7 separate regions of the Homo sapiens genome follow, and all the other regions are linked to region 4. The links are contacts of gene promoters, found by promoter capture Hi-C in human tissues and cell types (Jung and others, 2019). All regions are on one chromosome and are shown on one strand. The core of a region is centred on a gene start or on the middle of the fragment in contact, and the rest is flanking DNA. Distances in the headings are between cores, read along the strand shown. Region 1 has its middle 20 kb from the start of MANCR. Region 2 has its middle 47 kb from the start of LINC00703. Region 3 has its middle 32 kb from the start of LINC00703. Region 4 holds the start of KLF6 (KLF transcription factor 6). Region 5 has its middle 26 kb from the start of LINC00705. Region 6 overlaps LOC105376373 (a long non-coding RNA gene). Region 7 has its middle 38 kb from the start of PITRM1.

The links. The method cuts DNA at HindIII sites, captures the fragments that hold promoters and counts their contacts. A contact is called where the count stands out against the background at its distance.
Region 1: a contact is called between a fragment that was not itself captured here and the fragment with the promoter of KLF6 in region 4, in 1 of the 25 tissues and cell types used here (dorsolateral prefrontal cortex).
Region 2: a contact is called between a fragment that was not itself captured here and the fragment with the promoter of KLF6 in region 4, in 1 of the 25 tissues and cell types used here (IMR-90 fibroblasts).
Region 3: a fragment that was not itself captured here is called in contact with the fragment with the promoter of KLF6 in region 4 in 1 of the 25 tissues and cell types used here (IMR-90 fibroblasts).
Region 5: a fragment that was not itself captured here is called in contact with the fragment with the promoter of KLF6 in region 4 in 2 of the 25 tissues and cell types used here (heart left ventricle and stomach).
Region 6: a fragment that was not itself captured here is called in contact with the fragment with the promoter of KLF6 in region 4 in 2 of the 25 tissues and cell types used here (dorsolateral prefrontal cortex and heart right ventricle).
Region 7: a fragment that was not itself captured here is called in contact with the fragment with the promoter of KLF6 in region 4 in 2 of the 25 tissues and cell types used here (H1 embryonic stem cells and dorsolateral prefrontal cortex).

Annotation. Positions count from the first base shown.
Region 1 is chr10:4,696,046-4,700,328 of GRCh38, reverse strand. No RefSeq gene overlaps it. Among named protein-coding and RNA genes, the nearest start is that of MANCR, 20 kb to the right of the region's middle. The HindIII fragment of the contact is 6,880 bases long and covers 1-4,283 here.
Region 2 is chr10:4,429,330-4,433,355 of GRCh38, reverse strand. No RefSeq gene overlaps it. Among named protein-coding and RNA genes, the nearest start is that of LINC00703, 47 kb to the right of the region's middle. RefSeq lists an enhancer at 1,197-2,396. The HindIII fragment of the contact is 5,254 bases long and covers 1-4,026 here.
Region 3 is chr10:4,350,267-4,354,382 of GRCh38, reverse strand. No RefSeq gene overlaps it. Among named protein-coding and RNA genes, the nearest start is that of LINC00703, 32 kb to the left of the region's middle. RefSeq lists an enhancer at 162-1,361 and a silencer at 2,432-2,726. The HindIII fragment of the contact is 6,417 bases long and covers 1-4,116 here.
Region 4 is chr10:3,783,845-3,788,129 of GRCh38, reverse strand. KLF6 (KLF transcription factor 6) reads left to right here and starts at 2,921. Exons shown (of 4, transcript NM_001300.6): 1 at 2,921-3,217. The coding sequence starts at 3,116. RefSeq lists silencers at 2,012-2,071, 2,252-2,531, 2,782-3,381, a promoter at 2,183-3,120 and enhancers at 2,987-3,542, 3,543-4,099, 4,100-4,285. The HindIII fragment of the contact is 14,996 bases long and covers 1-4,285 here.
Region 5 is chr10:4,628,283-4,632,655 of GRCh38, reverse strand. No RefSeq gene overlaps it. Among named protein-coding and RNA genes, the nearest start is that of LINC00705, 26 kb to the left of the region's middle. The HindIII fragment of the contact is 4,312 bases long and covers 847-4,373 here.
Region 6 is chr10:4,680,097-4,684,182 of GRCh38, reverse strand. All of the region lies in intron 3 of LOC105376373 (a long non-coding RNA gene), which reads right to left. Among named protein-coding and RNA genes, the nearest start is that of MANCR, 4.1 kb to the right of the region's middle. The HindIII fragment of the contact is 6,523 bases long and covers 1-4,086 here.
Region 7 is chr10:3,208,417-3,212,619 of GRCh38, reverse strand. No RefSeq gene overlaps it. Among named protein-coding and RNA genes, the nearest start is that of PITRM1, 38 kb to the right of the region's middle. The HindIII fragment of the contact is 4,743 bases long and covers 1-4,203 here.

The DNA of each region.
Region 1 (4,283 bases), core at 32-2,531, 910 kb before region 4:
CAGGTGAAGTGGTTCCTCCAAATTTGTTCTTCTTTTTTAAAAGAAGTTTAACTACTTTACTTCATTTCCCTTTTTATATAAATTTGAGGATCAGCTCTTTAATATCTAAAAAGCATCCTGATGGAATTTTAATTGTTTTTGTATCATATTAAATGTATTTGCATTAAATCTAGATCCATTTAGGGCCAATTAACTTTCTAAAATGAGGTCATCAGATTCATATCTATAGTATATCTCTCCATTTAGGTAGGTCTTCATTTATTCTGTCATCAGTGTTTTGTTGTTCTGAATATACCAATCCCACACATAATTTTAACACCTAAATATTTTATTTTTGTTAGTTTCATTTTATTTATTTTTAAAATTTATTACTTTTTTATTGACAAATGAAAGTTGTATATATTTATGTTTTATAACGTGATGTTTTGAGCTATGAATTCATGGTAGAATGGTTAAATTGAGCTAATTAACATTTTTTATGATGAGAACATTTAAAATCTACTCTTTTAGTGACTTTTAAGTACAGAGTATTTCATCCAACATAATGTTCTCCAGTTTCTTCCATGTTGCAAAAATGAAAGGCTTCCCTTTGTTTTACTGCTGAATAATATTCATTGTGTATATATCACACATTTTCTTTATCCAACTATTGTTGATGAACCCTTAGGTTGATTCTGTATCTTAGCTACTCTGAATATTGCCACAATGGACATGGTAATGCAGCTATATTTTCGAGATATTGATTTCATCTCCTTTGGATATGCAAACCCAGCAATGGGATTGCTAGATCATATAATAGTTCTATTTTTAATTTTTTCTGGAACCTCCATACTGTTTTCCATAATGGCTGTACTAATTTACAGTCTTACCAACAGTGTACAAGGGTTCCATTTTCTCCATATCTTTGCCAACACTTGTCATCTTTTGTATTTTTGACAATAACCATTCAAACAGGTATGAGGTTTTATGTCTTGTGGTTTTATTTTGCATTTCTTTAGTAATCAGTGATGTTGAGCTTTTTTTTATATATATCTGTTTGCCATTTGTATTTCTTCTTTGAAGAAATGTATATTCAGGTTCTTTGCTCAATTTTAATTGGGCCACTCTTGAGTTGTTTGGATTTCTTATATATTTTTGATATTAAACCCTTGTTACATGTAGAGTTTGCAAATATTTTCTCTCATTCTATAAGTCATCTCTTCATTCTGTTTGCTGTTTTCTTCACTGTACAGAAGTTTTTAGTTTGATGTAATTTTATCTGTTTATTTTTGCTATTGTTGCCTGTGCTTTTGGAGTCATATTCAAAAATCTCTACCCAGACCAATATCATGGAGCTTTTCCAATATGTTTTTTTCTAGTAGTTTTAGTTTCAGGTTTGATGTTAAAATCTTTAATCCATTTTCAGTTGATTTTTGTATATGGTGTGAGATAAGGATCTAGTTTTATTGTTCTGCATGTGAATATTCAGTTTTTCAAACAACGTTTATTGAAGATACTGTCCTTTTCCCATTGTGTGTTTTTGGCACCTTTGTCAAAAATGAATTGACATTAAAGGTGCCAATTTATTTCTGAGACCTATCTATATCACTATATTTACAGTGGGTTTCTTGCAGATACCTTACCACCATACAGTCAAGTCTTTTTGTTTGTTTGTTTTAATTCGATTTGTCAATCTTTATTTTTGATTTGGTGTGTTTAGATTATTTAAATTTAATGTAATCACTGATTTGGTTAGATTTAATTCTAACATTTTTATTATTTTCTGATTGTCATTTTTTATTTTTTTATTTCTCTGGTTCTTCCTTATTATCATGGACTGAAGGTTTGAATCTTCCTCAGATTCATATACTCAGGCTGTAATTTCCATTGCTACTATATTGAAGGTTAGGGACTTTATGGAAATAATTAAAGTTACATTAGTTTATAAAGGTGAGGCTCTAGTCCAATAGGACTGGTATCCATGCAAGAAGAGGAAAAAAAACCCAGCACTGTCTCTCTGTGCACACACAGAGAAGAAGCCATGTGAGGACACAGCAAGAAGGTGTCTGTCTGCAGGGAAGGAAGAGAAGGCTTGCCAGAAACCGCAGCTGCTAGTATCTGGATTATGGATTTCTGGCCCTCAGAACAGTGAGAAACTAAATGTCTTTTGTTGTTTAATCCACCCAGTCTGTGATATTCTGCTATGAGAGTCAACATCAAGTAATATACTTGCCTTCATTTTTTTGCTTTTATACATACTTTTAAATATTTCATTTAACATGTGCTGTGTTTTAGCTATATCTCTTTTTACTATTTTAAGTGGTTGATCAAGAAATAAAAATATACCTGTCTAATGTCACGATTTTCTTTCAGTTATTATTTTACCTCCCAACATAGCAGACTTGCAACCAAATAGAATCATTTGGCCTCCTCTTTTTATTACAGTTGCCATGTGCATTACATCTGTCTATTTATCTATCAGTTATCTATCTATCTATATCTATCTATCTATCTATCTATCTATCTATCTATCTATCTATCTATCTATCATCTATCTATCTATATTAAACTGCCCCAGACAAGATTAGAACTTTTGTTTCCTAAGGTCATGTATATTTCACAGCTTTCTAGCAGTAGAAAAATATTCTATTACTTTGACCCAAATATTTACTATTTGTTTTGTTTTGTTTTGTTTTGTTTTGTTTTGTTTGAGAGAGGGTCTGGCTCTGTCCCCCCGGCTGGAATGCAGGGGGGTGCGATCTCGGCTCACTGCAGCTTCAACCTCCTGGGCTCTAGGAATCCTCCTGCCTCAGTCTCCCAAGTAGCTGGGACTACAGGCACATATCACCATGCCCACCTATTTTTTTTTTTTTTTTGTATTTTTTGTAGACATGGGATTTTGCCATGGTGACCAGGCTGGTCTCGAACTCCTGGGCTTCTGGGTTCCTCCCACCTCAGCCTCCCAAAGTGCTGGGATTACAGGCATGAGCCACCAAGCCTGGATGATATTTGCTATTTTTGTTGCTGTTCCTTCACACCGGGATTTTGAAGATTCCTTCTGGCATAATTGCACTTTAGTTCTTTTAGCATTTTTTTAATAGGCCTTCTGCTTGAGATAAATTACCTTAGATTTATTTAACGTGAAACTGTATTTCACAAAACAGTCACCCTCATGCCATTCTCATGCTCTTCTGGCCCTTGCCCATCCTCCTCAGACAGCTTTCCCTTCTGCATTCTCCATTTCTATTGGCAAAACATCCGAATTTCAAACTTGGGAGCCCACTTCTGCTCCTTTCTCTCCCTCATCCATGCCCTAGTAGCTACTATCTCACTATTATTTAGAATGGAAAAGAGCACATCTATTTGAGAAACATTTATGTTAAGTGAATAGGAATTACTGATGTGTGTCTTTGACATTAACCCATGAGCAGTGGTGTGCCTGTTTTATTTTGGTTTTGTTCTGTATCTACAGCTATTACAGCTCTATCTGTATCTACCTATGGCTATTATATTTATCTCTACGTATATATAAAATGTGCACCCATGTGTTATTTATGTAAACATACACACACTCTCACATGTATGTGTGTATCTATGTATGTATGTATATAATATACACACACATATTTATATACTGTAAATCTATTCATTCAGCATCTTATTCTTGGCTGTGTTACTATTAAGAATTCTCCATGTAGGTATATTTTTCTCTTTCAACTTCAGGAGACAAAATGAGAGAGCATCGTAACATTTTAAGTCAAAAATAGAATTTAGAATGAAATGTTCTAGCAGTTATCTTGTAAAGGATTTGGATATTTTTATATTATTTATTAAACCATGAAATGACATTATCTGAGAGTGTCCTACAACTTCAGCTGTTGTAATTTCACACCTCATGGTGGCCTCTGATTTCAAGGTTCCAGTGTGCTTTAGGGAAGCTTCTGCAGAACCAAATCCAGCATAATAGTTCAAAGGGGCCAGTTTGATGCCAGCAAAATGAACTAGAAAATTGAGTCAATTAACAGGAGAATTCAGGATAGATTTTCCCACTACATATACAAGACAAACATGAGTTTTACAGGACTGTGTAAATGACGGAATTGGTGGCTCGTTAAATGGACCTGTGGTTAGCATGGGAAACAAGAGGATGGGGCATCTCGTTGGGAGAAAAATTAGTGCTTTATCAGCTGCTCGCATCCAATGCCTGCACCAGGCTGGTACCTTAACAGCTGCTCACCACTCAGAGATACCAATCACGGCCCTATCAAACCCCCATTCTCTCTCCAGATCAATCAGTGTCTCTT
Region 2 (4,026 bases), core at 905-3,404, 650 kb before region 4:
CTTACAGAATGTTTTAAATCCATTGTTGAAGCCTACTACTCAAGAAAAAAAAAAGAAAAAGATTATTTTAAAAGTATTACTGCTCACTGAAAACTCACTTGGTCAGCCAAGAGCTTAACACTGTCTTCATGTCGGCTAATGCAATATCCATTCTTTAGCTCATTGATCAAGGATCTAGGAGTAATTTCAACTTTTAAGTTTAATTATTTAAGAAATATATTTTTATAAGGCAATAGCTGCTATAGACAGTGATTCCTCTGATGGGTCCAAGCGAAGTAAATTGAAAACCTGGAAAGGATTTACCATTCTGCATGAGAAATTGAGAAAATTCTGATTGGTGGGGGAAGATCAATATATCAACATTAACGGACATTTGAAAGAAGTTGATTACAACCCTCATGGGTGACTTTGAAGGGTTCAAGACTCCAGTGGAAGAAGTAACTGCAGATGTGGTGGAAATAGCAAGAGGATTGGAATCACAAGTGGAGGCTGAGGATGTAACTGGATTGCTGCTCTCTCAGGAGAAAACTTGAATGGATGAGGAGCGGCTTTTTATGGCTGAGTAAAGAAACTCACTTGAGATGAAAACTTCTCCTGGTAAAGATGCCGTGCACATTGTTGAAATGACAGCAAAGGATTTTGAATATTCTATAAACTTAATTGATAATGCAGCCCCAGGACTGGAGAGGCTTCACTCCAATTTTGAAAGAGGCTCTACCGTGGGTAAATGCTATCAAGCAGCATCTTCTGCTACAGAGAAATCTTTCATGACAGGAAGTGTCCATTGAGCCAGCAAACTTCATTGTTGTCTTATTTAAGAAATTGTCACAGCTACTCCAACCTTCAGCAGCCATCAGCATTGAGGCAAGACCCTTCATCAGCAAAAAATTATGACTCACTGAAGGTTCAGATATTTGTTAACATTTTTCAGCAATAAAGTATTTTTAAGTTAAGGTATGCACTTTTTTTTTTTTTTTTTTTTTTTTTTTTTTTTTTTTTTTTTTTTGGCCATAATGCGATTGCAAACTTAGGCCACAGTATAGTGTAAAAAAATAAGTTTTGTATGTACTCGTAAAATCAAAAAAATTGTGTTACTAACTTCTTTGCAATATTTATTATAATGACCTAGAAACGAACCTGCAATATCTCCAAGATGTGCCTGCAAGCAAATTGTTTCTTAAGGCTTTTTCTACATAGAAGTGAAATCCATAAGTAAAGCAATTAAACAGATTATTAAAGCAAAAAATGAGCTCAAAATCATCAGATTTTTGAGTCAAAGGCATATTTTTTAAGCTTGACTATGCAGGTAATTACCCCATTTCTGTATTCTGCTTTGTGAACACAGATATTTACTTAAATAGATGTGCTTTTTGTTCATATACCAGACGAGTAAACATCACACTCTCACACACATTATTGCTTCTACCAGAATAAAATTCCGTGTGTTACCATCGCCTTAGGAACACCGAGTTTGAAATATCTGCACCATCTGGAACAAATGGCTTAACTTCCAGCTGTATTAACTTAGCTCTTCATCTTGTCTAAGTGGAAAAGCCGAAGGTATAAGCCTTTCCCTTGTATAGAGTGTGGGATAGACTTGGAGGTTTAATCTATACTCTGTCTATACTTGGGAAGCCTAGACTGAGCTAAAGGTATTTCCCCCCATGTCCAAAGTAATCATTTGTCATTTTTTCACAGCAGGATTGCTTGAATGTCTGGTCCAGCTACGGCCATCTCTCTCGGAAGGGATTACATTTCTGCGGAGCTTCAGAATTCCTGCAATGCTTTGATCTTGCTGAATCTATGGCATGATTGTAACTGTGAGTCATGCTACACGGTTTACTACAAAAGGGATCATGATGGAATGGTGGACTATGGGGAAGGGAACATTGATTCTGAGACTTGTAACTCTTTTCAACATTTTGAAACAGAGATTATTTTACTTATCTTGGACACGAAGGCAGCATAACATCGCAGCGAGGAGCGTGGGCTCTGCATCCATGATCCTAGGTGGGAATCCACCTTCTGCAGCTCACCAGCTCTGTAACTGTGGGCTCACCTTTTCTCTTCTTGGCACCTCCTTTGCCTGCGCTGTGAAATGAGGACAGGATTAACACCGATTTCATGGAGATACTTTGAGGGTTAAAAAGGCAATTTAATGTAAAACATTTGGAACAGTGACTGGTTAAAAATGTAAGCATTCTATTGATAGTAGTTGTTATTAGAAAAGCTACTTTTTTGTTGTCTTTTCACGTTATGCTATTCTAGAATGAGTTAGTCTGCACAGACTCTCAATACACATCCCTCAACTAAAAAAAGCAAGGGAGTGGGATATCAAAGTTTTCGAACATATGCATCTAGTTGTAATTTTTTTCTTATTTGAGTCTCACAACTTTCTGTGATATAAGTATTTTTACTCTTATTTACACATGAAACAACTAAAAACTATGCAACTTATGTAGAATGCTTTATATGCTATGTATAAACACTGTATCAAAATTATATTAAGAGATATAATTCTACAATTCCATAGGAGATAAGCTTACCAACTCCAATGTATGTTTGTCAAAATTAAGTTATAAGAGTATTATCAATTACCCATTTTATGATCATGTACAAATTATAGTTGGACACATTTCTAACAAAATTAATTAAATGAAATAAAAAGTCAATTAAGCAATCAAAAATAGTTGACTTTCATTCTTGTGACTTTCATTGTTGATGGCGTGATTGGGCCTTTTTAAAAACACAATTATTTTCTATCTTTTAAAAAAGGTTACATTTTAAGGTCAGCACATGGGTAGAAGATGGTTGAGAGTAAAAATAACCCTTTACAAAACCATAAATAGCCCCTACAACATCATCAATATACCACATTTAGAGTATTGCACTCTGTGGAGAATTCTTTTGGCACATCAAAGTTTGAACTGGAGAGGGAATGAGATAATTTTACATGTGGATAATTGGACATTGAAGCCACTCTGCCTTTAGGATAACAATAAGATTTTGAGTGATGGTTTAGGGGTGGTTGTGAGCTCCAAGTGTCTCTCCCTGCCAGCAGGATATGTGTTATTCTAATATTGTCTGTATCATTTTCATGCAAGGTTACAGACTTTTTAGTTACAGAAAAGATTAAAAGTGATCACATAATAACACTTCGCATAGATAGTATTACATTCTACATGCTGGGTATATATTAAATGCTTATATGACAGGACTCAATTTTTTTTTCTGATATCTCATGCCTTTTTGAATTCATTCATCCATTCCTTAAACATAAGTTTAATAAATTCAAGATAATTCTGCTAACTGTGTCTCATCTTTGCTTCGTATTAATTTAACAGTTTTACTTATGGACTGAAATATATGTCTACCTGGCTTGCAATGAGCGGACTGAGATTTTATAGCTACTGCATTCTTGGTGCTTGGTTCCTGTTGGTGTGTCATGCTCTGATAACCCTCATGATTTGGGTTTAGAGGTATTTCTCCCATCTGTCATGGCTCCTTTAGCAATTTCGTGTTTTATCTGCCAGCGTCCACCGTGTGTGCCGGCTCAGCTTCTGCGACACAGGCAGCTGATTGAAGCAGCAATGAGCTGAGGGCTCTGCTGTTTTGAGGGTGTGTGGAGAAATTGAAGGACCGCATCCAAACGCAGACACCAAGGTTGTGTGCCAAAGGAAGTCTGGCTGAAGATGTTTTGAAACTCTAAAAGCAGGCTTTTCAAAACTCTGATGCTTATAAATAAATGAACAGAGTTCACATATCACGTGTACATGTTATAGGATATGCTTTACAATAAAAAAGATAAAAATTTTCTTGTAATATGGAGGCCCTAACCATTGTTTTAGAAAAAGTCATTTTAAAAGAATTAAGGTTCTGTTTTGTTCATGGAATCAGCATGTACTTATTGAATACGTCTTGGCTGCTAGGTACTGAGCTAATTACTAAGGGGCCACAGGTTAACTGGGAATGGTTCATTCCTTCAAATCAGCCTTAATTAGTGGGAGGGCTTTGAGGCCAACCTGA
Region 3 (4,116 bases), core at 1,556-4,055, 570 kb before region 4:
GAAATATACTTTCCAGGTTCAAGCACCTTTCCCTGTGATGGACAGCTTTGTATTTAAAAGAATCCAGATTCCCTTTGTTTGCACTGTACTTTCTCCTAAAGAATTTGAGAACTCCTGTTAAACACAATGCTTTTGTTGGAGGTTACAGGTTGTTTTGATTAGAAAATGTAAACAAAGTAGATTCACATTGTCCACAGAATCTGGAAATTACACCTTTACCAGTTATGGTGTTTATGCTGTTTTCTATCCTTTTAGATAAAATTTACCAGAGGAAATGACTCAGCAATGAAAATATTATGTTGTCCAGGTGCCAGTGTTTTACAGGCTGGTGGTAGTGAAGACGTTAGGTTGAGAGTAAATGTCCTTTAAATAAATTGTGTGTAACCTTGCCTATTCAGGAACAAAAATGAAAATCAAGAAGAAGAAGGAGGAACAAGAGGTGAGAGAAAGGGATAGTTGGTAGCGTATGTTGGAGTTTTATTTATAGTAACTAGCTAGTAAACCATTAATATATCAGCATATTGATGGGTTTTTCCCCGTGTTTTCTTTGAAATCTCTGACTAGATTTTGTGATTAAGTGTCACTCTGTAAATGATAAAGTAAATGAGACTTCATAGTGAATACTAATATTGAAAAAACTGAAAACAGGATTATAAAAGGTTTGCTTTTTGTATAGCAGCAAAGCAACTAGGATCTGTTTATAGAAGTAGACATTAAAAGCAGAGTCTCCTACTAGCACCTTCTGAGAGAACCACAACCCTTATTTAACAGTTTATCTATTTTTGTTTCTAACACTGGCTCCTAATTTGTCCATGTATTAAATATTTTCCTGGAAGAGTATGACATAAACCTGCAAACATCCCAGTGGTTGGAGAGATGCTTAACAAACACAGATGGATGCTGGTGATATCATAAGTACCAGACCCGAGAAGCATCCTTTTACATTTTTCAATCAGCCACTTATCTAAAGAGAATTCATATCTTTCCCCGATCCTCCCTACCTCCTCCTAGAAATCTCAGCCCTAGCCAGGGACATGAGTCGAAGGGCTTTTCTTTCTCTCTGGCATTATTATAGGAGGACAGTGTGAGCGCTGCAGCAGGTCTGAAGTGAGAGGAGAAATGAGAGACCTTTGCTCCATGGCTGGGCAGAGGCAACGCAGTCCACGCGGATGTCCCTGCTGGGCTATTGTGTTCTGAGATATGGAACTCGGCAGTGGTCGTGATGCCCCCAATCACAGTGGAATTTAATCATTTCTTATCAAAGCATTGTCTCTTCCAGATATTTTTCTCACTCTAAACAGCCGGCGGGAAAAAAAGAAAAGATAAGAGGAAGAAGGGAGCTGAGAATCTTTTGTGAAAGGTGAGGAGGTGAGAAGGTGAGGAGGCACCAGCCACACTGAGGAAGGAAGGGCTGTTGCCAAGAAAAATGCTTCTCCATCATAACTTGTCCTTTCCTCTGCTTTTCCTCCAGCTCTTTTCCTCCTGAACACCACTTAGTGATTGGCACGAAGCACATTTTACCCCTCCCCAGAGGCAGCCGACCTGCAAGACCTGCAATAGTCACACTGTGTTAAAGAGCATCTACGCGGGAGGTAGTGCTAACCTCAACAGACTTTCAGAGGATCCAAGTCTGTGTGCATTCGGCAGGAACGCAGGTCTGTAAAGTGACAACACAGCCATTTCATAATCACCCATCTGTAAGACATTTATCAAGAGCCTGAAAGCCTGATAACTTATCTCCCCTCTTGAAAGGGGTATCCTAGTCCAGAGGATCCCAAGACTTCTCGGCTTGCCAACCTTTTAATTCAATCCCCAGGATGATTTCTTGATGTTTAGCAAAGCTACTCACCAGGCTCTGTGAGTGGAAAACTCTGGGAAGTGTTCCCTGAAAGTGCTCAGACCCTGGCAGAGAACAGGGTCTTTGTGCTGTGAACTCTGATCCTGTCCTGTGGGCCTGAACCTAACACATCCTATAGTGTCCACCAAGATTTGCATCAACCATGTCCAGGTCCTCTGCAGATCATCCCTGGGAATGCTCAGGCCTTTGGATGTGCTTTCATAGCTGGTCTTTGCTTTCCTCTTGTCTCTGGGTCTCCAGAGGGACTCCACTGTCTTGCTCAGCTCTCTAAGCCCAGAGTCTGCACAGTGCCTGAAAGAGAGCATGTGCTTAGTGAATATTTATTGTGTGGATAAATTGATGACTACATGAATTAGAAACAACCACTCAGCCTTATAGGGTAGCTGTATGTGGTAGGCAGAATAATGTGCCTCCTCCCGAAGACATTGTAGCAGAGGAAAAAATGTATTTTTCTTACGCCAATCTTAAGTTCACTGATTGAGACCCTGCAAACTAGACTGATAAAACATAGATTAACAAGACAAAAACAATCAGGAGTTTACTAACACTCACATCCTACATACACATAAGAAAACCCAGTGATGAGTCACTCTACTGGGTGGTTTGAACTTGGGCTTCTATAGCATCTTAACAAAAGAACAATTAATTATTACAGTGATGGCAAGAGAAAGAAAACGGACATTTAGTTTCCAGAGCAGCAAACTGGGAGATAGTAAACATATGAGGCTACAAGGCAAGGGCTAGTGAGTGAGGTTTGTTAGGTCAACTTCTGTGGACCCTACAGGATGATAAGGGGCTAGAGTTTTTTCGGTGATTAACTCCTGTCCTTCTGGGTAGAGAGAAAGGGAGACACCTTTACAAATGATGCCCTGCCTTAGGCATATGGGAAGGGTTTGAAAGATTTTCTTGTATTAGCATATTCTCAATTGTCTTTAGCCCAAAAGAATCCTTATGCCAAAGTGGCATATTTTGGGGTAGCATGTTCTGTACCTCCAAAGCTTGAATTGATTTTATTTCTTCTCTGACTGTGCAAAGGCACTAAAATGCAAGGATGCAAATCAAATCTCAGGCTGTCTCTAAGACACAGGCCAAGGGACAGCTTTCTGAATAGTGAACTAAGGGGATATGTTAATAAAACAAACTGATACAAAAACGTATGTTCAGAGATAATTTATGTGGTAGTTACATGACAGCCTCAAAACACAAGATTAAGATAGAGAAACCAAACCAGGAACTAATAAGAAAATCAACCATTTTCAGGTTCAACCATTAACTCCAACAAGGATAAAATTGCCAAACAAGTTATTTAGCATTGTGTGAGTGAAATATGTAGATTTCCATATATCTTGTTATCTGGCTGACTGACTTGAAGTCATTTTAATTGAGTCAAGCCTAATCCATGCAGTTTTTTGGAAGTAGAATCCAATAGCCAGGGTAATGTCAGTTGCTATGACAAGCATCCATTCAACTATACAATGGCTCGGAAAAAAAATGAGGTCTGTTTCTCATTCCAAGGTGATGGAGGTCTATTTATCGTTCAAAGAATGTGCAGAAATTGGTGTTCCTAGTCAATGGATGGCTCTTTTTAAGGAAGTGACTCAGAGACCTGGGTCCTTACATCCTATGGTTCCACCAGCTTCAACACTTCCAAGGCTGCCATGCTCCTGTGCATGAAGGTGGTGAAGAAGAAGATAGCATTGGGAATTGTACATGACAGAGTTTTATGCCTGAAAATGGCGAGTGCCACTTCAGTTCTCATTTTATAGGGTAGATATATGTCACATTACCATTTAACTGCAAGAAACCCTAAGAAATATGGTTCTGCCATTTTTCCGGAGTGAATGGAAAATGAGTGAGTAGTTACCTGGTGTCTGGCACTAGAAATCAGGGAAGTATCTGTGATATACCCTAGCTAAAGCCCTGGGAGTTACCACCTCTCACAGTTGATTGCAGTCTTGAGCAATCACATATCATGAATATTTACAACTAAATGAATAATTGAAGTTCACCTGTTTCAAACCTTCCTTTGCAGATAAAAACAAAGTCTAGAAAAGCGAAATTCGTCTTCGAAGACCATGCAACTTAGCTAATGACAAAACTAAAACAATTTTCAAGTCCTAAATTTGTACCTAAATATTCTTTCAACCACAATTTGTAATCCAGTATTTGATTTTTTAATCACAAGCTCTCTCTTTGGGAATTATTAAAGTGAGTAATCATAAATCACTAGAAGTTTGGGAAAAGTGATAAAAACTTAG
Region 4 (4,285 bases), core at 1,672-4,171:
TCGAAAGGAGCCTACGACTGTCACCCAGAAGGGATCTTGACCTTTTGAAGATAGTGGCAGAGACAGGAGTGGCTCAAGGTGAGCAGAGAACAAGGGTCACGTCCAACAAATGGAGCTGATTATTTTCTCTCCAAGACTGCGAGAGTGAAAACAGAGCAGGGCTCTTCAGCGACCGGCAGGAGAAGGAAGCACCTGTGGGATTATTGGACAAGTCGAGGTCCAACTCTTGTCTCTGATTTGCTTTGTGGCCTGCAAAGTTGACTTCATTTTTCTGTCTGCATTCACTCATATGTTAAAAGAAGGGTGGGGGATTATAAAATAATTACCAAGAGCAAACTTACAAATGGCTAAATGGTGAATAAGTGAACACTGCCTTCAATTTATTGAATCACTACTATTTGCTACCAAGCAGGAATTTTAATCCATTAACTCTTCTGATTATACTAAACTCATTCTAATAGTCATTTTAATCTCCTATTTAAATAACGTGACCAGGGCCATGCGCACAGCATGGACAACTAAAGTGTAAAATCCATCATCTTTTTATATCCTGCCATACTTCCCCCTTCTGAATTAATCTGGCCCTCTACGATTCTTTGTTGCTCTTCTTAAAAAAATCAGGCGCAACTATTAGTGTTCAGATGCGATGCATATTCTTTGTCACATCAAAGAAAATGATATTTTTTCACCAACTGGTTACATGCTTACTCGTAATAAGGACTTTTGTTTTCAAACATCTACATACTCCTGGCAGCCCACCTCTCCCACACCGTAATAGGGATTTGTGCCTGTTTTGTAAATTTCTGTGTACCAATACCTGGCCATTCATAGGGTGTGAGTAATGTGTGTTCAATGGTCAATGAGCGCAGCAGGATGCCATAGGATCTATTCTATTTGAAATTTAGTGTTCATATGTACCCTGTTTTCAAATCTTTTTTTTTTCTGAAAATGACAATGGCCATTGTACTGTATCTGCATTATGACTAATCAGGTTCCCTCTTGTAAAAATAAACTATATAATCTTCATAGTGCCGGGCAAAGCATGTTAAGAGACAAGGATGAATTTAAGTTCTATAGGAATGTGGATTTATTAAAAAACATTAAGACAATAATTAATTGTCCCAAAGATAAAATGGGACACCCTCACCAGGACGCCCACACGCCTTGCAAAGACAGCCGTCCTGTCCTCCCTGGCCCAGACAGAGCCTTCCCCCTTCATCTCGGGCTCCCCCTGATCCAGCGTGCCTGGCCCTCAGCGGGGGACTTGCTCCACACTCCTGCTTACTTAGGAACTAGCGGGGCCAAGGTCACAAGCGCTAATTACTGAGAGAACCCTGCCCCCAACACAACGGCTGCCCAGATGCTCTCGGCTGCCAGTCACTGGGCCCCGGTCAATGGGCGCTTGGGCAAATCTGTGGATGGTTCAAAACAAAGCCATTTGCATTCCTGGAAACAGAGTTAAGGTGCAGGTCCCCAAGAAGGGCTGGTCCTGGCTCTCAGTTGCTGGGGTAAATGTGATGAACACGAGCCAAGAACACTGTCAATTCACTCTGCATAACCTTCACCGCCCACATACCGCAGGTACAAGACAAACCTCCTTTCTCCACTCCAGACTCACTAAGGTCCCCACCTAGTCTTACAGCCACATGCTTCTGCCGGACCCTCTAAAACTTAACATACAAAACCCTCTAATTTTTTTTTACATAGTCCATTCTTTCAAAATGTTTAATGTTCATTAAACTATTTTGAAACAAAAACTATAATACAGTTACAATTCAGTTTTCCATTTTGGATTTTAAAATGCTCTGGTTCGAGTCTCGACATTTTTCTTAAAAATGAACATTACGGTATATTTTAGGAGATAATTTATATGGAAAAAAACACACACACTAAATGTCGGCTTGCACCTAAATTGTTTACACGTTCATGGGAAAACCTAGCTGTTAACCTTGGTGAGGGCTAAGATCGCCCTCTACAAGATAAACACGTTTCTCCCAATTCCAAGGGGAGCCTGCGTGCTCCCCTCCCCCACTCTGGTGGCCCGGAGGACAGAGGGGACCCTAGGACTGGAGGGGGACGGAGACGGGCTCAGGGATGGAGGGGGACAGAGAGGGACCCGGAGGTGGAGGAGGACAGAGAGGGGTACCCCAAGGTTAGAGAACAGAGGATGACTAGGGGGATGTAGGGAAACAGAGCGGCGCAGAAGAGGACAGTTGGGGACGGGGCGGCCCCGGGCATAGAAGGGGACAGTTGGCGACCGGGAAGCCCCCGGCGTAGAAGGGGACAGTTGGGGACGGGGCGGCCTCGGGCATAGAAGGGGACGGGGGGGAACCGGGCGGCCCCGGGACCGGACGGCCGCCCGCAGGGTGAGCTGCCGGAACCGGGGCTCGCGCGGCGACAGGGCCCGGCTTGGTGACCGGGACGGGCGTGGGGTGGCGGGACCGGGCAGCGGGGAAGAGAGACCGGGACTGGGGACAGGCGACGCGGCCCGCCCCGGCTCTCCCAGCCCCGGCTCCCTTAGCTCCGGCCGCGGGCGCAGTGCAGGGCTCGGCCGCGCACCTCACAGCGCGGACTCCTCCGGCGCGCGGCCGCCCGCGCCTTATATACCCTGCTAAAAATAGCCTGCGAGGCCACTTTCCAATCAGAACGAGCAGAGTTCGAATTGAGCCAATGGTGCGGGCCGTGATGGAGAGTCTCGGTCACGCCAGGCGGGGCCGCTGTGTGTCGCCGCCTGCGATTGGCCGGAGCTGACATCATCGGCGCGCAGCCCCCGGGCCGGGAGCCACGGGATTGGGCCGCGCACGGGGCGGGCGCGGGGCGAGTCACGTGGGGGGAGGGGGAGTGGGGGGAGCCAGGCGGGGGCGGAGGGGGAGGCTGGCAGCGGAGCTTTGAATAGGGAAGTTTTGCAGGGGTTACGTTTGCAGTCAGTCCGGTGTTTGCAAATATTGTGTGGGCTCCGCGCGCTGCGGGCTGCGGGAGGGTCCGGCCGGGCGTCTCTGCGAGCCTGGAGTTTGCATGAAACTTTCACCTGCGCTCCGGGGAGACTTTCGGCTCCGGCTCCCACCGCGCGCCTCGCCGCCCTCGCGACCGCGGGCTCCGTCCAACCCGGCCCGACATGGACGTGCTCCCCATGTGCAGCATCTTCCAGGAGCTCCAGATCGTGCACGAGACCGGCTACTTCTCGGCGCTGCCGTCTCTGGAGGAGTACTGGCAACAGGTAAACGCAGCCGGCCGCGGTTCCCTGCGGGCGCCGGGGCGCGGGCCGGGTCGGCTGTTTGGGGTTCAGACCCGGTGCTCTCTGCGGTCCGCTGGGCCTGGGCCCCGCGCTGTCACCGGGGGAGCGGGCGCAGCGCCCCCGCCGATCGATCCTCCAGGCTGCGATCAGCGTCCGCCCAGGGAAGCCCCAACTCCCGGCACAGCCCGGCCGAGCCCCTGGCACGAGTTCGGAGCCTGTCCCCGCTCCAGACGCCACAGCTGGAGCTTGTCATGGGGACCAACTTGCTCTGCCTGCCAAGGTGTTTTTTTTTTGTTTGTTTGTTTTTTGTTGTTTTTTTTTAACGGATTTTGTTTTTGTTTTGTTTCTTGGTGCTTGTACTTAACAGTTTTTTAAAAAAATCACATTTTGCCCCCAGAACGTAGACCAGCTCTCTTTTATTTTTGTCTTTTTTAAACTGTAGACCATTTCCAATGTGTTTTCTGCTCTTTGGAATGCCTAACATTTCCCCTAGATCTGCCTTATTTGTCTTCCCTGCTTCTCTTGTTGACCAAGAAAAATAAAAATAAAACTGTGTACACCCCAGTGACTTGTCAGTCTTGTGACAATGAGCCCGTCCAAACTGCTTCAAGTCTTAGTTTGGAAAGAAGGACCTCGGTTTCCGACATTGTCGTAGAACTGGAATTTGGGGGCATTGGAAATTTAAGAAACTTACCAGGTCCCCGTGCTTATAGGTAGCATCGCCCGAGGGGAGAGAGACTGACACTCCTCCCATTGTCTCTCCAGCGATCGCAGGAGGGTTTACTGTTGTCTCCCTGCCCTGCTGTGCTGTTTGTTTTTCGTCACAAAGTGAATTGCCAGATCAAATAGAGGCTGTGGGTTTCCAAGCCTCGAAAGCTTTAAGGAAGATGAAATGCAGGGTGTTGCAACCTTCACACGCCTGCTTAATTGTTCACAGTCCTCTCCTGCCTTTTCCCCCTCCCCCTCCTGTTTTTTTCCTCCTCAAAGAAGCTGCTCCCTAGGACGTGATTGAAATTGATCTAAGTAGTTTCCTTCGGGCGTTTGGGATTT
Region 5 (4,373 bases), core at 1,753-4,252, 840 kb before region 4:
CTTGATTTCACTGAGGTGTTTGCAGCCGTATATGATTGAGCCTAATATTGAATGTTACTTTGAGATATGCTTTTATCAAGTTTCAATGATTTGTTTTTCCTTCCGTAGGGATACATGCTTAATATTATCAAAGGCTTTTGGCAGTTGTGAAGTGGTCCTCTGGGGTCTTTTCTTCTACATATTAATATGGGACTAAATTATATATTTTAAAATATTGAATCAATAGTTCTTGGGGATGAACTGTACCTGGCTGATACATTATTCCTTTGATATACTTTTGAAGTATAATGTGTTTCAATGCTCTCAGGTTAGTTTTTTTCTTTTTTGTCTATAGGTTTTTCTCTTTCATTTTAGAGTGCTTTCTGTCCTTGGCTTTGGTATCAATTTAATTTGGTTTCACAAGAAGAATAATTTTACAACATTAATTTTTCCCTGTGTTCTGGATGAATTTCTCAAAAGGAAGACATTTCCTTTTCTTAAAAGTTTGAAAAAAGTTGTTCATTACATTGTCTATGGTGATGACGTTTAGAAGGACAACTTTTCAAATTACCTCAGGGTCTCTTTAGGTATCTCAGTAATAGTTTAGTAATCGTATTTTCCCAGGAAGGCCTAGAATCATCTGTTTCTTCAGATTTTCAAATCTGTGGCATGGGCTTGCCCCGTGCATCTGGTAGGCCACCTTATAATTCTTTCCATTTGCTCCGGTTCTGGATGGTTTCTCTTGCCGTGTCTGATTCATAACTCCATCCCCAGCCCCCTGCAATCTCCTTCACTGGCTGGGGGCTGCCTACACAGAGTGGAGCCTCCTATAGGTACCTGGACTACTCCCTGAGAGGCGGTTCATGCAGAGAGTTCACATCAAACAGCTCCTTCTCCCAACATAGACCACAGGAAACAGAAACCCTAGACTGCTGCCCCATCAATCTAATTTAAATGGAGAACTGAAGAATGTTGCACAAGGCTGGAAGCTGCCCTTTACTTGGACACGTAAAGGTCCCATGTCTAAGTTCTTCCCAGCATTGTCTTCATAGTGATTTTAATTTTCTTTGCTGGGGTCCACGCGGTCTTGGCAATGGCAAACTCCTCCTTAGATACTTGTTCCTCATAAAAGCGCACTCATTCAAGCATTTCTTATAAGACCAACCATCTCTTCCTTTTTCATTTCTCTCTTATGAAGCCATTGTGATATTCTAAATTGGTGTGAAGCCATGAACGATTCCACGTTTCCATGGAAGAGCACATGCACTCCTCACATGTGCAGGTCTCACCTCGCTCCAGATTTACAGTGTGCAGTATTCATAAGGTTTCGAAGTGGAATGTACTGTAGAGCATTGCAAGGTTATTTAATACTTGAGAGCCTACCATTAGCCAGCTAAGGAAACGAAGGTAAGTCTAAATGGAAAAGTTGTTCCCAGACTTCAGGGAGCATATGTTTTTGTAGGAAACAGGCAATAAAAATAATCAAACCTTGGTAGTGTGCAAAGTGTTAGAAAGAAAATAAATAAGATGATGTAATGGTAGTAGAGCAGGGAATAAGCCAGTGTGCACTCTACAAGACGGTCAGGAGCAGATGCTCAAAGGGTGAGAATACCAGCCATTCATATCATGAGCTGTGGCTGGTGTTCCCACCCTTTGAGCATCTGCTCCGGCAGTTAAGGAGCTGCAGGGCAGAGTAGTTCACACCAAGTGGGGAGGGTAGGCAGGACTCCACTCTAAGTGTAGCGGGAAGTCTTTGATGGGAGGATTTTGTCTAGCTCAGTCTCATTTTACTGCTCCTAAAGAGGGGATTCTGAAGCAGAGGGAAGGGTAGGAAAGTTGCTAGAACCAGTAAAAAAATCACTATGAGTGGGCAACAATACTGGCAGTGAGGAAGAGGAGGAAGGCATTGACTGTAGAAATATCTTGGAGATGAATCCTACCAACCTTGATGTTTAATGTCGGACTTAAGAAACGTGCATGGCATTCACTAAGATGTGAAAGGTATGGCTGTTTCAAAACAGCAGTAACTCTTTGAGACAAGGTATGGCTGTTTCAAAACAGCAGTAACTATTTGAGACTCATCAGAGGTCCTAGGCAGCAAAGTAGGCAACAGAATTGGGTGTTCTGTTTTTTCATCAGCTTGGGAGTGACATTTTGCTAAGCCCAGCCTTTAAGGTTTTCTCTCAGGCTATCTTATAATCATCTTCTTCATTTTGCCAATTTCAAAATGGGAAATTGTCTTGCTTTCTACTGGCCATTTCTTTATGAACCCACAGCACTTTATAGTCTTCTATTGATACCATCTCTCTTTGTTGTATTACATACACTGAGCACATGTCTGTACAGATAGGTTAAAATAGCTGAGGCTTTTTTTTAGATAAAAATATTCCAGGAAAAAGAAGGGATCCAGATAAGTTAGTATTAGAATATCTGCAAAGATTTACTTGTTAATTTTTATTTTAATTTTTATCTAATTTATATAACTTTACGGGCAGATGTTACATTCAAATTTTGTGTATAATAGACAAGAAAACTTTCAAAAACACATTATGGAGAAAACAATATAGTGTTATTAATTTAATATTTTTTCAAGTAAGAACATTAAAAGCATAAAACTACAATTTTGTGACACCATTATTTCAAAAAATTAATGATGTTTTAATACCTATGAAGGAGGAAGGGCGATAATTTCTGAAGACAGTTTTTTTGTTTGTTTGTTTAATTCAATAACTGTAAATTTATTTTTAAAAAAGTCATAATGTTGCTCTTATTTTGCCCATTTCTCTCTTGATCTGTGAAAACATCCTCATAGAACTTTAGTCCAAGGACAGCAATTGGTATCAGAGCGTAAGAGATGGAAGAAAACAAGTGACACATTCTTTACTTCTGCTTAGAACTGCTGATTTAGAGTATCATAATGACAATACCCTATTTTCTTCTTCATTCTCATTATTATTATTATTATTATTATTATTATTATTATTGAGATGAAGTCTTGCTCTGCCACCCAGGCTGGAGTGCAGTGGTGCAGTCTCAGCTCACTGCAACCTCTGCCTCCCAGGTTCAAACAATTCTCTTGCCTCAGCCTCCCGAGTAGCTGGGATTACAGGCGCTCGCCACCAAGCCTGGCTAATTTTTGTATTTTTAGTATTTTACTTATAGAATTCCATGATGCCAAATTATATTTTATAGATAACAAATAGAGAGCTGTGTCCCCTGACTTGTCACCTCTACAGAACACATTGAGATAACAGGAAACGGCCATATATTCTGGAAAGAGAAGAGGCTGAATAAAGAGAGATGAGGATCCTTGGGGGAGAGACTTGAGTGACCACAGTGGGAAAACATGTCACTCCTTCCTGGGGAGAAAGGTCAGGTGTTTGAGTGTGCGACCCCTGAGTTTCACAGTAAAGGGGTCTAGTTTGGATGCAGTTGAGAAAGGCCACTGGCTACTGATGTAGCCTGAGTCCAAAGAGCAGAAAGTGAAGCCTGTTAGTTACAGAGATTGCTGAGGACCCCAGAGGGGTGCCTCAGCATTGCAGGACTGTGAGTGGAGCCACTTCACAAGAGCAAAAGCATCAAAAATGACCATCTTGAGCTGCCCTGAAGTGCCAGCATCTGCTCAGCTTTGTATATGATTACATTGCATCCTCATGACAACCCTATAAGGAGGTCATAATAACTTGCTCATTATTGAATGGTTTTGTATTCTAATTAGATTATCTAGTTATCACTTAAGAATCTGTCCCAAAGCTTCTTATTGTTTCTAAGAGCACAGTTTTGAAGTATTTTCAAATAGGAAGCTTCCTGGCATATGATTTTCCTAAGGACACACATTTAATGGATCCTAGGGTAGAGTGCAGCAGAATAAAGTTTGAGCTGCTTGTGCAAAGCTAAGTGTGCAGGATATGCAGGGCCCAGAATCAAGGTAGGCCTAGCTGATGCCTCCTTGCCTTTAATTGCTCCCTGTGTTCTGCCTAAATCATTTAGACTGGGCCTGTACAAGAGGAGTGAATTTTATGATGAAAGGGAACCAATGACTTCCTAGCTTCATGTCCCCACCACTGAATGAGTGTGGCCCAGCTATGCCCACCCCTAGCCTGCAGGGTGCAGTTGAGGTAGCGCCAGCTCCCAGGCTGTTGTTGGGAGCATAGGCTCCAGGCAGAGGAGAAATGGAGAGGAGGAGAGGGAAGGGGAGCCCGGAACAGGACCACCTCCACATGGACTTAAGGAAGGAGAAGCCCTATGCCCATGACCTTGCTGAAGAGGACAAGTGGAGGGTATTTCAGGGAAGAAGAGAGGCTGAAAGCATCCCTACAGGAAGAGGAGCCAATGCCACAGTCATTGGAAGCCGTTGCTGCTTCCATTGTCCCGTGATGGTGAGAGGTCACCCT
Region 6 (4,086 bases), core at 123-2,622, 900 kb before region 4:
AATTTAACCATTATTAAGGACTCCCAAAGTGCTGTGCTGAGCCTCAACCAGGTACTTTTAGTGATGCAAACTTGGAGGCTCCTGGAAGACAGTCAATAAAATAATTTTAGATGAGGGGAGACTCATTCTAAACATGATTCATCCCTCAGTACCACGGTGGTAATCTGCCTTTAGGAATCAAGTAATGTCTCATTGAAATTTGAGGACAACGCCGGGATCATTGGCTTATGCCTGTAATCCCAGCACTTTGGGAGGTCGACGCTGGCTGATCGCTTGTGCGCAGGAGTTCAAGACCAACCAGGGTAACATGGTGAATCCCGTCTCTACAGAAAATACAAAAATTAGCCAGTCATGGTAGCATGCACTTGCAGTCCTAGCTACTCAGGGACTGAGGAGGGAGGAGCACTTGAGCCCAAGAAGTTGAGCCTGCAGTGAGCCATGATCATGTCACTGAACTCCAGCCTGGTGAACAGAGCAAGAGTCTGTCTTAAAAACAAAAAAGAAATAAAAGAAAGAAAAAGAAAATTGAGGTTAAATGAATACTATATTGATCCCAATAGTTATTCTTAAAGGTACTGTCTTTCAATATCCTCACCCATCTAATCCATAATGTTTTCTCCTCTCTTTCAAGCATCATTTAAAGTATTTCTTCAGTTTCCAGGGGGCAAAAAGATTACTGAGACTGCTCTGAAGTCCAATAATCATAAACAAAAATACAAGAGTGGCATCACTGCTAGGCAAAATTTATATCCAATAAGGAGACTCAGGCTTTCACAAAAGACAAATTCATGGCTTCCTGTTTTCAAAAAGGGAAGTGAGTAGGTAACTTTCTCTACAGGTGTGTGTCCAGCTGGACTTGAGAGAAGTGTAGCAACCAGGCAAGGGCCAGGGGATGGGGTAGAAACAGAAAGCCCCATTGTCTTCACCTTTGCCACCTCTTCTAATTGAGATCTAAAAATTCTTCTTTTCTCTCATTCACTTCTGGTAAAAAATCCACGTGCACCAGGAAGGCATGACACGTTGATGGAAGTAGCTCTTCATACTTCAGTGTGAATTTAAAAAGCTGATTAAAAATTTAACAAAAGGAAAGAATAAGTAGGGAAGTGCTGGTCATTTGACAGGAGGATACTCCCTGGTAAAAAAGAAGCTTATGGGTATAATAATAAGTGGCATTCACGACAAAACACACAGGGAAGTTGCTTAAGAGCCACCTAGCTCATTTGAACAACAACTCAAAGATCATATTAAATGGTAAGCAGAAGACATTTAATTCCTTACTCGAACAAAAGCTAACATGGCCCATATTTATTTACATGCTTGTACTGCATTTCCAAAATGATAAAAATATTCCCCTTTTGTTGTCAAGATATGAGTGCTTGCATTCAAAACAGGCTTAATGCCTATCAGTCCATTGAAGCTCATTAGCCAAGAGATGATTACTACCTTAACACGAACGATGTATATCTTAGCATGCTTTATTCAGCTAAAAGGAGTTTTAATCCTCATGCATTCTGACTATGATCTGATAAAAGTTTAATGATACATTAGAGCAGATGCTTTAGATTTATTTCTATGAATACCAAAGCAAGCCTTGGTTGAAATAATCTAGCCATTATCTTTTTGGGTCTTACATAGTTTTCCATGACTTATGTTATTATTTCTGTGTTTTTGCAGTTATCAGCAGAAAGTAGTTCCCATAGCTTTAGAATTGGTTATTTGTGTTTGTTGTTGGCCTTAAAATACTGTATTAATTCACATAGGGACACAGACAGATGTATGTTTGGATGTTGAGCTGTAATTTTTCATGAGCTGTTACAATAGAGTCTCATGGCTTCCGCTCGAACTTCATTTCCCTCTTCACAGTTAAAGTGAATATAAAACAAACACAAATGCTTATGTGCAGCAATTTTCTCCCACAAATAGGTCTGCAGTTATCTCATCAGGAAGATATATTGTATTTAAGCCTTTATTTGCCCTCTTTCACACCCAGTCAAGGTGGCTTAGGGAGTATCATTTTATCAAGTAGAATTAGAAGCACTTGGTAAGTTGCTCATCTTATGTATAAACCTGAAATTAACCTGTCGAATAGAAAATAATGAGAAACTGATTCAGTTCATCTGATGCTTATTTCTTGTGACTAACCTATCATTTAAAAGAACTAGTAAAACAGACATTTTTGGCCTGAGTTAGCTATATATTTACAATGGTTTTCTATTTCTTTTTGCACTTAAATATTTAGTTCCCTTACCTTTAAAATAGAATGTATTTTAAGAAATATTCTGGGAATGAAATGTAGAAATAACATATTATATACACTTCTGTACTTCTGCTGAAGTTTATAATATTCTGCTTCTTAAATACGGTTTATTATTTTATAATGTTGTTATTTTCACATGTATATTTTACGTGTATATCATGATAGTGTTTTGTGGATAAAAGCCAACATTGCATTCATTTGGGATCCTTCTATCACAAATAGCACAGCACATAATCAGTATATAGTAAATATATAAATAAAATTTATAAAAAATATATTATCCTGTGTAAATATTATATGCTAGGTTCTGAATAAATAAAAAATACAATATTCAAACTGAAAACTGAATGATGACATTCATTAACTGTCTTGCTTTTGAATCCATAAACAAACAATTTATCTGAAGACGTTAGGTGATGGCCGGCCCTAGGGCCGTGACTTGCAGAGTGTCCTTCTTTGAGAGACTTTCTCATTGGAAGCCCAAAACACTGTCCAGGGAAATCAGAGGCCACACCCAGGTCCTCAGAGGCAGACATAATGATCTCTCTGTTAACTATGCATTATAGCCATTGTACCTACTCCTAATATTTTTGTGAAATTTATTTGAATGATCGATGAACCTTTCAGCAAAACCCAAAGAAAAGAGAGAATTCAATTTCTAAAGGAAAATCATACAAGAGAAAATAATTTAGAAATATTTAACAAGATGTATTTACCTGACTCTTAAACTCAGACCTGAAAAGAAGAAACACTCAGGTTTTTTAGTTCAGATGCTTTGGGGGAGCACATACACTAAAAAGTCACATACTGTTTTGAGATAACTTTGATCTCATCAGAAAAACATTTGGTGCCGGGAGCGGTGGCTCACGCCTGTAATCCCAGCACTTTGGGAGGCCGAGGCGGGCGGATCACAAGGTCATGAGATCGAGACCATCCTGGCTAACACGGTGAAACTCCGTCTTTACTAAAAATACAAAAAATTAGCCGGGCGTGATGGCGGGAGCCTGTAGTCCCAGCTGCTCCGGAGGCTGAGGCAGGAGAATGGTGTGAACCCGGGAGGCGGAGCTTGCAGTGAGCCGAGATAGCGCCACTGCACTCCAGCCTGGGTGACAGAGCGAGACTCGGTCTCAAAAAAAAAAAAAAAACCTTTGGGAGAACGTAGCTTCTTCTTGTTCATAGGCTTGTTCAAAAGCTTTTGCTAATGATAAGTGAAAAGCAGTATACTTGATTATTATTTAAACCTCTAGCATGCCTTAAGACAAAATTAGCAATGGGGTAGTGAGGTTGTGAAGTGGCAATGGAGGTGATGCTGGTAGAAGAAGTAAAGGAGAGGAACGAGAGGAAGAGAAATGGTTAATGTGTAATGAGCACATATTTTCTGATGGTCATTGTCGTGCTAATTTAGTCCTCCCTGCCATCCTGTGCGATAGGTTCTTACTTTTGTTATCTTCAATTAATGGATGAGGAAGCAAAGTTTGCAGCAGTGACCAAGTCACTTAACTCAGGTCATTTAGCTTGTTCTCTCTCGCCCGGGGTCCTGGCTCTCCAACCTAAAGCATAGGCCCCATGTACACAGGCTTTTGCATTTTCCAGCGTCTCTCATTTTCCAAGCTGGTTTTTATATTTAAAATGTTATGCCAAAATAATTTTCAGTGATGTAAATGCCTCTCAACAGTGCTGTCTTCCCTGAGGTTACTTTTAACCCAGAGAAATAAAATTCTAATGATCACATTTGTGTCAAGGCTCTGGGAAGATTATCTGCTCAGAAGAACTTTCTAAGGATTTGTACCTTTGTATTCCAGAAGCAGCTGCCCAATTTTGTCTATTCG
Region 7 (4,203 bases), core at 1,048-3,547, 570 kb after region 4:
GAAAGCAGGGTTTAGTGAGAGTAAGTTTCCTTGTGGACAACATGCCTGTGAACAAAGGTGCTAAGTGTGCACTTCTGCTTTTAAATGAGCAAAAATGCATACATGCAACTATTAGAAATTTAAAATGAGTTGAGGAACAAGAAAACTGATTAAAGAAAAAAATTGTTATTGAATTCATAGATTGTATGCAACTACTAAAAGGAAACTGGGTATATCAGCCTGAAAGTTTACTTCAAAAATGAAATGTCAATCAGGCGCAGTGGCTCATGCCTGTAATCCCAGCACTTTGGAAGGCCAAGGCAGATGGATCACCTGAGGTCAGGAGTTCAAGACCAGCCTGGCCAACATGATGAAACCTCGTCTCTACTAAAAATACAAAAAAATTAGCTGGGCATGGTGGCGGGCACCTGTAATCCCAGCTACTTGGGAGACTGAGGCAGGAGAAATGCTTGAACCCAGGAGGCGGAGGTTGCAGTGAGCTGAGATCATGCCATTGCACTCTAGCCTGGGTAATAACAGCGAAACTCTGTTGCAAAAAAAAAAAAAAAAAAAAAAAAAAAAAAAAAGGTCTCCTAAAGGAAACAGGACCAGATGTGCTGGACACCTGATCAGGTATGGTAGACACTTAACTCAGTGTGGTAGACACCTGACCAGGTATGGTAAACACCTAACTAGGTATGGTAGACACCTGACCAGGTATGCCACACACCTGACTAGGCATGCTGGACACCTGACTGAGAATGCTTTATCCTGATGGACAAGAGTTCATTCCCCAGAGTCCATCTTCCTTCTCAGAGCTGATCCCCTGGTAAGGCATTTAAACTGTGTTTCTAAGTGGATAGGGTATCTTCCATGTGACTTCAGAAAAATCTAAAATGATAATAATGGCTGGTATTATTAAGCATTTGCTATGTGCCTTGCTATGTGCCAATGTCACAGACATTGTTCTGTTTAATGCTCACAATACTTGTATGAGATAATTTCTTACAAATGGGGAAACAGATTTGAAATGGGAAAACAACTGTTTAAATTCCCATGAACAATAATCAATTGATCTAAGCCCAGGTCTGTCCCAAGTCTGGCTGTCAGCCCTGTCACCTCCTGTCCCAAACAATATCACTGGTGTGAGCCCAAGGTTACACCTGTATAACAAGACCCTAAATAAGAATGTTGTGAGCTATACAACAGGAGGCGATTTGAGGGGCTGGTGTTAGCAGTGCTGCAGACACTTGGAGACGATAGTCATTGGTGGCGTTGTGCCACAGGAAAGCATTTAAAGGTTTAGAGATGCTTTTGCTTGATTGATAAGGCAATATTCTCAAACTTGATCTCATACACCATACTAATACATCTTTAGATCAGTATACCCGCACATCCATGGTACACATGTCCAAAGTGTGTTTTCATAAAATGCAAACACTGAATGTATTCTTGAGGCTGAAGTTGTATATGCCTCTTCATGAGAAAAACAGGATATTTTTTCTCTTTAGTGCTTGAGGCAAGCTTGAAATACAAGTTAATAGGACCCAAAGTATCTCTATTTTATGTTATTAAAGGTAATCTTCTTTAATTAACATAATCAGAGGAAAATAGTATACTTTGGAGACCAAAAAAAAAAGTGGCATATCTCAGATCAAAGGTTTTTCCTGGTGATTGTGTTTGATTGTCTTTTGAAAACATGCATCCTAAGAGTTTCTAGAATGCAGCAGTTGGAATTTTTACTTTATTTACTTTATATACTTCTAATTCTGACTTTTATATCGTAAGACAATTGGTGTGTCTGTTTATAATGTTGGGAATGTGGAAGGGGAAAACTGTATATTTTCTTAATTTTGCATGAATACATTTATTTCTAGCACTGTAATTACTGTTTTTGAACAGCTTCACTGAGAACATAGCATGCCACTGGCTGGCCCCCAAGTTTCTGGTGCCTTCTCAGCCTCATCTATGAGAGGATAAAATAAAAAGTCCTGGGCACCCAAGCGCATGATCCTGGTGTATGCGTGCTTTGAAGAACAGCAGAAGTCCAGTAGAAGTTGGACTTCGCATACAAATGTGCAAGGTCTGTCGAATGAAGCTTTTCTCTCAGTGGTGCAAAGAAAACCCTCGTGAAAATATGCATGATATGCACACAAAGGGCTTGGCGTGGGCCCAGCCTGTGGTGCACCTGGTGGGGAACAGTATTACTGCCAATACTGCACCTGAACAAAGCCATACACTTCCGTGGATGTCTCAGGAGAGCTGCTGTCATCTACGGAGAGCAGAACCTGAATGAAAATAAGGCAGAGGAATGGAGAAGTATTTGTGGGCATGGCTTGTGGGGTCCAAGGGCAGTGGGGTCTGGAGGATGACTGTAAAGACGACTGCCTGGGAGGCAGACTAATTGTTGAATAAGCTCACTGAGGCCGCCCACCACCCCCACGCACACATTGCAATGATTGGCTTGATTTTGAGCTGGAACAGGAGGCTGCCATGATGAAATGCCACAGGCTGGGCGGCTCGAACGACAGAGGTTCATTTTCTCACAGCACTAGAGGCTGGAAGTCCAAATCAAGGTGTCCTTAGGGTTGGTTTCTGGTGATGACTGTCTTCCTGGCTGGCAGATGACAACCTTCTCACTGTGTGCTCACATGGCAGAGAGAGACAGAGATGGAGACACAGCTGGAGAGAGACAAAGATGGAGACAGAGACAGAAACAGAAAGACAGAGACACAGAGATAAAAATAGAGACAGCTAGACAGAGACAGAGAGAGAGACAGAGAGAGGAGACAGAGAGAGGAACACACAGACAGAGATACATAGACAAAAATAGAGACAGCTAGACAGAGACAGAGAGAGGAGACAGAGATAGAGAGAGGAGACAGAGAGAGGAACACAGAGACAGAAATACAGAGACAAAAATAGAGAGACAGAGACAGCTAGATAGAGACAGAGACAGGGAGAAAAACAGAGAGACAGAGACAGGGAGAATAACAGAGAGACAGAGACAGAGAGACACAAAAATGGAGAGAGACAGCAAGGAAGAGATGAGACAGAGAGCGTAACCTCTTCCTCTTTTTTTTTTTTTTTTTTTTTTGAGACAGAGTCTCACTCTCTCCCCAGGCTGGAGTGCAGAGGCACGATCTTGGCTCACTGCAGCCTCCGCCTCCCGGGTTCAAGCAATTCTCCTGCCTCAGCCTCCCGAGTAGCTGGGACTACAGGCACGTGCCACCACACCCGGCAATTTTTTTTATTGTTAGTAGAGAGGGGGTTTTACTGTGTTGGCCAGGATGGTCTCGATCTCTTGACCAAAGACTGCAGTCCTATGAGAATTAGAGCCCCACTCCTAGGACCTCATTTACCCTTTATGACCTATTTAAAGATCCTATCTCAAAATAAAACCCCACTGGGGTTAGGGCTTTCACTTATGAGTCAGGGGACACAGTTCAGCCCACAACCAGGTGCCAGGGACACAGCCATCCACATGGAATTTGTTGTTCTTCAGTTCTGCTTCTGCTCCCAATCTTTTGATAGACGGAGGACCCCTCCTCAAAATAAAACCACCTTGACTGTCACGGAGAAACTCTGTGCTGCATTATCTTTACTAAACGGTAGCTCCTTTTGAAAGGAGAAGTGATCCCCTCTCTCTGTGGGAAACACCCTAAATACACGAGGGGCACGGCGAGGAAGGCCAGCGCCAGCTTCCTGTGTATCCGTGTCCACGGCAGCCACTCAGGCTCCAGCCAGCTCGTCGGAATTGGGGCCGTAGCTTCAGAAAGGCGAGAGGTGATTGTCCCCACCTCTGCAGCTGACCTCGGGGTCCTCGGGCCCAAGCCTGCCAGCTGTTGCTCTGCCCCAGCAGAACCACGCAAAGGGGTGTCGTCTACATGCTCACCACACACACAGAGGATGTGGGGGTGCTCAGGGTGAGGCACAACCAGGAAAGTCACGCCCTCGGAGGACACAGAGTCGTGAGACCTCGGAGGGACCCAGGGCACCCGTCAGAGGCTGATGCCCTGAGAGAGGAAGCAGCGCACCCGCAGGAACAAGGCCGAAGCGCCAAGCCTGGCACTCGGCCATCAGGACCCTCTCACCAGGGAAAAGGAAGACCTGTCACAGAGCAGTGTGGGGCAGCGATGCTGTTTCCAAAACAAGTTCCGGCCGGGCACGGTGGCTCTTGCCTGTTATCTCAGCACTTTGGGAGGTTGAAGTGGGAGGATCCCT